2 separate regions of the Homo sapiens genome follow, and region 1 is linked to region 2. Evidence: promoter capture Hi-C in 16 types of primary human blood cells and fetal thymus (Javierre and others, 2016). All regions are on one chromosome and are shown on one strand. The core of a region is centred on a gene start or on the middle of the fragment in contact, and the rest is flanking DNA. Distances in the headings are between cores, read along the strand shown.

The links. The method cuts DNA at HindIII sites, captures the fragments that hold promoters and counts their contacts. A CHiCAGO score of 5 or more calls a contact.
Region 1: a contact is called between the fragment with the promoter of ZBTB46-AS1 here and a fragment that was not itself captured in region 2, in 1 of 17 cell types (monocytes). The highest score is 5.3, in monocytes.

Annotation. Positions count from the first base shown.
Region 1 is chr20:63,806,676-63,810,363 of GRCh38, reverse strand. ZBTB46-AS1 (ZBTB46 antisense RNA 1) reads right to left here and starts at 2,288. Exons shown (of 3, transcript NR_110081.1): 1 at 2,209-2,288. The region is part of intron 1 of ZBTB46 (zinc finger and BTB domain containing 46); the gene reads left to right. The HindIII fragment of the contact is 29,160 bases long and covers 1-3,688 here.
Region 2 is chr20:63,597,493-63,600,991 of GRCh38, reverse strand. It overlaps GMEB2 (glucocorticoid modulatory element binding protein 2), which reads left to right. Exons shown (of 10, transcript NM_012384.5): 5 at 3,132-3,235. Among named protein-coding and RNA genes, the nearest start is that of HELZ2, 25 kb to the right of the region's middle. RefSeq lists an enhancer at 3,017-3,186. The HindIII fragment of the contact is 2,033 bases long and covers 1,072-3,104 here.

The sequences.
Region 1 (3,688 bases), core at 1,039-3,538, 210 kb before region 2:
TCTTCCCGTTAATTTCTGATAAACTTCTAAGCATCCACGTGACTGGCATTTTTAATGTTCCTGGAATTGGGTTTTGCTCAGTTTTAATACTTGACGGTTTTCTGGGCCATCTTCGAATTGTCGAGTGTTTGGGTCTTTTTCTGTTTGTCACTGTTAGCCATAGCAGTGCTTGGAACATCTTGGAACCAATTAGCTTTTTGGGTTATTTCCTTGGGGCAGAGTCTCAGAAGTGGAATTAGTCAAAGAGGCAGAGGCATCTGTAGGCCTCATCCCCACGCTGCAGGCTGCTTCAAGGGCCGCCCCACTCTGGGCCTCCTGTGTCACGGCCACCTTTGTAATTGACATTACGTTAATGTTTGCCAGTTCCATGTATTTAGAGTTTTCTTTTCTTTTTTTTTTTTTGAGAGAGGGCCTTGCTGTGTCACCCATGCCGGAGTACAGTGGTGCCATCTTGGCTCACTCCAACCTCGACCTCCCGACTCAAGGGATCCTCCCACTTCATCCTCCAGAGTCGCGGGGACTACAGGTGTGCACCACCATGCCCGGCTAATTTTTTCTATTTTTTGTAGAGATGGGGTCTCACCATGTTGCCCAGGCTGGTCTTGAACTTTTGGGCTCAAGCCATCTGCTCGCCCCGGCTTCCCTCAGCGTTGGGATTTCAGGCATGAGCCACCATTCTGGCCTGGCCTTGAAATCTTTTCTCAGAGTTAAGCACGTGTCTTTTAAGTCCTTTCCAGAAATCTTTAAAATTGTATCATTGAGTTAAGCCACACTGGCCACCACACGGCTAACTTCGTAAGGGAGAAGAGGGGAGAGGAAGGGAGGTCGCGGAGCTCCTGCTGTCTCCCGGAGTCCTCTCCACCTGCTGGGCTCTGGCAGGTTTGCTGAGGACCGCGTGAGGGCGCTGCTGTCTTCTGGGCTCAGGGCTCCTGTGAGCTCCTGAGGCCTGGACCCAGGGGTGGCCTTTGTTGCTCCCTTGGGCATAATATGGGGGGACACAGGCAAGATGTGGGGCCACCACCCCAGCAGGCCTGTGCCGAACCCCAGGACCCCATTCCTGGAATAGACGCGGCCATGAGGACTGGACGCGCTGGGCGTGGCCCACGGCGGGGCCCCCAGGGCTGCGCCCCCAGGGCTGCTGACCTTGCCCCCCTTGGCTCCACCGAGTCTGCACCTTTAGTGCCCACTTCGGCCAAGCCCATGGCGAAGTGCCCCAGGCGCTGCGGTCCCTGCGAAGGGGAACGTGGAAGGCGAACGTGGAGAGCCCCTTGAGTGCCTCTGCAGCACCGGAGCACCGAGCCGCCAGCTCCCAGGTCTTACCTCATGAATCATGGAGTTTTCTTTCTTTTTTTTTTTTCTTTTTCTTTTTTTTTTTTTTTTTTTTTTTGAAGCGGAGTCTCGCTCTGCCGCCCAGGCTGGAGTGCAGTGGCGCCATCTCGGCTCACCGCAAGCTCCGCCCCCCGGGTTCCCGCCATTCTCCTGCCTCAGCCTCCCGAGTAGCTGGGACTGCAGGCGCCCCCACCACGCCCGGCTAATTTTTTTTTGTATTTTTTAGTAGAGACGGGGTTTCACCATGTTAGCCAGGATGGTCTTGATCTCCTGACCTCACCATCCGCCCGCCTCGGCCTCCCAAAGTGCTGGGATTACAGGCGTGAGCCACCGCGCCTGCTGGTTTTATTTCTTAAGGCGGCCTTGGCGCCTGTCCTGGCCGAGCGCTGGACCGAGGAGGGCCTTCTCTGGGGGAGGCTCTGTCCGCCTCCCACCCACGCTGGAGGAGCTCAGGTCTCATGGGGAGGCAGGACTCGCTTAGGGGCGGGAGGTCACACTGCCCCGGAGCCCAGGCCCTGCCCTAGGAGGAAGAGCCTGGCTTCCCCCTTCCCTCCCGCCGGGCCCGGGGCTGAGACTCCTTGTGGGTCCGGATGACCCTGTCCGTGACCTCCGCCCTGGCCCCGCTTCCGCCCCACGCCCCCCTGAAGCCCCGGGCTCCGTGGCGTCTGCCTTCCGGGCCCTCCCCTGCGCTCAGCCCCCGGGGCAAGGGCTGGGAAGGATGGCTTGACTGGCCTACAGGGTACAGGGGACCCCTGACAGGTTCATCGCTGGGGCCCCATGGGCCCCCCCTCCGTCTGTGCCGTGCGGATGTGGAGACTGAGGACTCCTCCATCGAAGGCGGCCGGTGGTGAAATCCAGTAATCTGGGTGGGGTCCTTACCGCGCTGTCCGCGGGGTTTCCTCACTGCTCAGGCGGCTGCTGCTCATCCACGCCACCTCCGTCGGTCCGTTCAGCTTCCGTGAGTGTCCCCTGTGGGAAGGTCCGTTCAGCTTCCGTGAGTGTCCCCTGTGGGAAGGTCCGTTCAGCTTCCGTGAGTGTCCCCTGTGGGAAGGTCCGTTCAGCTTCCGTGAGTGTCTCCTGTGGGAAGGTCCGTTCAGCTTCCGTGAGTGTCCCCTGTGGGAAGGGCCTGTGCCGCACAAGGTGGGGACTTGGGCACACGGCCTCGGAGGCCAGACACCGGGCGAGCCCCGCTCTGGGAGTGAGACCCGCTCGGAGGGGGAGCGAGCCCTGAGGCGCCGCCTGTAAGCCAGACCCGCTGCCTCACACAGACGGGTGCTTCGCTTGTTTTGGCCTAGTACAGCTTTTAAGCAAAAAGTAACTGGTTAGGGATTCTATCATATTGCTTGATGTAAACAAATGCGGCAAAATGTTAAAAAATGGAGTAGCTGAAGGCCGGGCGCGGTGGCTCACACCTGTAGTCCCAACACTTTGGGAGGCCGAGGCGGGCAGATTGCTTGAGGCCAGGAGTTCGAGACCAGCCTGGCCAACATGGTGAAACCCCGTTCCTACTAAAAATGCAAAAATTAGCCAGGTATGCTGGCGTGCGCCTGTAGTCCGAGATACTGGGGAGGCTGAGGTGGGAGAATCACTCGAACTCGGGAGGTAGAAGTTGCAGTGAGCCAAGATGGCGCCACTGCACTCCAGCCTGGGTGACAGAGCGAGACCAAACTGACTCAAGAAGAAACAGAAAATCTGAATAGACCTATAACAAATAAAGAATCAGTAGTCAAAAAACTTCCAATGAAAGAAAAGTTCAGAAACTTTCACTACAGTTATTGTACTTTTTAGCTTCCAAAAAGAAAAGTCAATTTCAATAAAGAAATTGAATCAATAGTCAATAAACTTCCAACAAAAGAAAAGTCCATCTCTGTCTCTCTCTATATATGTATATGATTGTATATATCACTTCACTGTTGAATTCTATCAAACATTTTAAGAATTAACACCAATCCTGGCCAGGCGTGGTGGCTCACGCCTGTAATCCCAGCACTTTGGGAGGCCGAGGCAGGTGCATCATGAGGTCAGGAGATCGCGACTATCCTGGCTAACACGGTGAAACCCCGTCTCTACTAAAAATACAAAAAATTAGCCGGGTGTGGTGGCGGGCGCTGGTAGTCCCAGCTACTCAGGAGGCTGAGGCAGGAGAATGGCGTGAACCTGGGAGGCGGAGCTTGCAGTGAGCCGAGATGGCGCCACTGCACTCCATCCTGGCCGACAGAGCGAGACTCCATCTCAAAAAAAAAAACCAAAACAAAACAATTAGCTGGGCGTGGTGGTGGGCGCCTGTAGTCCCAGCTACATGGGAGGCTGAGGCAGGAGAATCGCTTGAACGTGGGAGGTGGAGGTTTTAGTGAGCCAA
Region 2 (3,499 bases), core at 839-3,338:
GGAAAGCTGGCAGGTGCCTCCTTAACCCAGCGATCCATCTTCACATCATCAGGCTCGGGACAGACCTCCCCTTTGAGCCTCCTGATGCAGTGAGCAGGTCTGTGGTGTTCTTCCAACAGTTCATAGCCTGACTCTACTCATGAGAAAACAGCAGACACTCATGGAGAGACAGCCTACGTTAATACCTGACCCACAAGCTCCAAAAACGTCAAGGTGAAGAAAAACACAGACAGGCTGAGAAGCTGCTCCGTCTTTTTTTTTTTTTTTTTTTTTTGAGATGGAGTCTTCCTCTGTTGCCCAGACTGGAGTGCAATGGCGCGATCTTGGCTCACCGCAACCTCCGCTTCCTGGGTTCAAGTGATTCTCTTGCCTCAGCCTCCTGAGTAGCTGGGACTACGGGCACCCACCACCATGCCTGGCTGATTTTTGTATTTTTAGTAGAGATGGGGTTTTGCCATGTTGGCCAGGCTGAGCCCGAACTCCTGACCTCAGGTGACCTGCCCGCCTTGGCCTCCCAAAGTGCTGGGATTACAGGCGTGAGCCACCGCGCCCGGCCTGCTGCAGTCTTAATGGGGACAAAAGCCGAAGAGCAAGGCAGCTGCATGCTCCACAGTCTTGGGCTGGATCCTGCATCAGAAAAAAATGTAGGCTGGGCATGGTGACTCACGCCTGTAATCCCAGCACTTTGGGAGGCCGAGGCGGGTGAATCACCTGAGGTCAGGAGTTCGAGACCAGCGCAGCCAACATGGTGAAACCCCATCTCTGCGACAAATACAAAAAAATTGGCCAGGCATGGTGGCATGTGCCTGTACTCCCAGCTACTCGGGAGGCTGAGGCAAGAGAATCTCTTGAACCCGGGAGGCGGAGGTTGCAGTGAGCCCAAGATTGCACCAGTGCACTCCAGCCTGGACGACAGAGTGAGACTCCATCTCAAAAAAAAAAATTTTTTTTTTGCAATAAAGGCTATCATTGGAACAATTCATGAATTTGACTATGGACAATGGATTAGAGAATAATGTATGAATGATAATTTCCTGATGCGAGTTGTTCTGTGGCTGCGTAAGAGAAGCTTGTTCTTAGGAAATATACACAAGTGTTGAGGGCCCAGGGGCCCGACGTCTCTGCTTCACTCTCAGTAGCTGCACGTGCACAGGTCTAGGCGGGGGCAAGGGGGCAGACGGGAGCAGGCAGTGAGTCCGGAACGCACGTGTGAGAGCTCCCTGGACTATCCTGGCAATTACCCTGTGAGTTTGAAATTGTATTAGAATTAGAAGTTGGAAACACGAAAGAAATGTACCATAGGTGACATCATAATGAAATTCCAGAAGGACGGGGACAGAGAAGATCCTCAGTCTAGCCAGGAGGAGAGACGGATCGCTCAGTAGCAAGAATCCCGCCGGCCGTGAGCTCCCGAAAGCAGCGCAGGAGCAGAGGTGGCAGCGCCAGAGCCTCACTGTGTGGCGAGTGACGACACCGTGAGGTCGTCTTTGAAATTATGCTGGAAGAAAGACGTTTCCAGAAAAAGACACGAGTTTGCCACCAGCAGATCATGATGGAAGGATGTTCTAAATATGCATTGCAGGCGGAGATAGGAGGCCTCCAGATGGAAGCGCTGTGCTGTGAGGAGGTGTGAAGAGTCGGGGAAACGTGGGTCACCCGACCAGTCCTGTCTATTCAGCATCGAGAGAGACGCCCTGGAGGGCCTCAGAGATGAGAGCAGGGCCACGTGGCTGTGGTCTGGAGGGTCAGGAGCGGGCCGAGTTAGCTCCGGGGGGTCAGGAGCGGCCACGTTAGCTCCGGGGGGTCAGGAGCGGGCCGCGTTAGCGCTGGAGGGTCAGGAGCGGCTGCGTTAGCTCTGGGGGGTCAGGAGTGGCCGCGTTAGCTCTGGGCTCTGGCAGCTCTGGTAAGCGTGACATGCTGAAGCTCCTGGAGCCACTCATGAGAGTACAGCATGTAGCTTCCTAGCTGGGAGAGGAAAACCTGGGGTGAGAAGAGTAACAAAGGTGAAAGCAAGAAAGGAAAGAGGCAGGCCTAGGAGGGGCAGGGAGGTGAGGCTGGCTGAGCCCAGAGCCCTAGGTAGGATCAGGCCCTTTGGGTGCAGTTGAGTTTCCTAGGTGTGAGCCACGTTGGGTAGAAGTGATGGCCGGAAGCAGCCTCAGTCACAGCCAGTGCAGCCTTCCTGCCAGGCTCCGACAGTGGCCAGAGAATCTTCTGGATTCCACCTTCTGGACTTCTATGGGATCTCCCTGATCAGCCGCATGAGGGAGAGCCAGAGACTGGCTGGGCTTAGTGTTCCCGTCTGTGGCACAGGGGTCATGAGAGGGTGGGCTCAGGGATTGGGAACATCACTTCCTTCAGCAAGCTAGACTTGGGCACGGCCCGGGGGTGGAGGCGGCCCCCGTACTCGGGCCTCCTGGGTCCAGCTGCAGAGACCTCGTGACTCCTCCATCCCCAGCCTGCTTGTTTTCTAAGTAAATGCAGTTTTATTCCAGTTTTTGGTTTCAATAATTGCTTGTGTAACAAGATTGAACAGGATATTTTACCTTCTCAGTTTCTCTGAGCTCCCACATGGGTGAAATTAGCAAGCAGGAGGGTTCCCCTGGCTTAGAAACAGATGAGTGTGTGTGTGTGTGTGTGTGTGTGTGTGTCAGAGTGAGAGCAGGTGCCGGTGTTTGCTGCACGGGGCAAGGTGGTGTCAGGAGGGACCTGAGGAAGGTGGCGTTCACAGCTCCACCCATGTGCTGGCATCTGTTGCCATCTGCGATGTAACGTATGCAATAACGTGTATTTATAAAATACATTGCACAGAAGCAGTTTGCTTAGTCTGCCTGGAGGAAGAGAAGGCCACACACCTTCTACCTGGTGTGGTCAGCCCAGCCCTGTCTAGCCCCAGGCACACAGCAGCTCTGCCCCCTCAGGGCTGGAGGAGACACCACTCCCCACTGCAGCCACCGTGCCTGTGGGTCATGTCCTTGTTTTACCTGAATGCTCTGTAGGAGGCCTGCACCGGTCAGAGCCGTGCCGTGGCGCTTTTCCTGCCTTGCGCGCCTGACTCAGGGTCGGATGGGAGATGGGGGCACCCTATGTGGTGTCCCGGCCAAGCTTGACCCACATGACTGTGTCCCCCACAGTACGACGAGCATGTAATCAGCCCAAAGGAATTTGTGCACCTGGCCGGGAAGTCCACCCTGAAGGACTGGAAGAGAGCCATCCGCATGAACGGCATCATGCTCAGGTGGGCGCTGGCGCAGGGTCAGCCTCCCTGCTGGAAGGGGCCCTGGCAGCTCTTGCTTTCTTGTGGGGTTTTGGGATTTTGAAGATGAGGCGTATTTTAGATGTGGTGAGTGCTGACAACCTCCCGGGTGGCTGCTGCACCTGCTCACACCCAAAACTGTAAACCCGTCTCCCACACTCCTGCCAACAGGGACACTATCAGATTTTTAGAATTGTTTTGTCAGTCATTTTAATTTCCACCAATTCTTTACCTGAAGGCACTTGT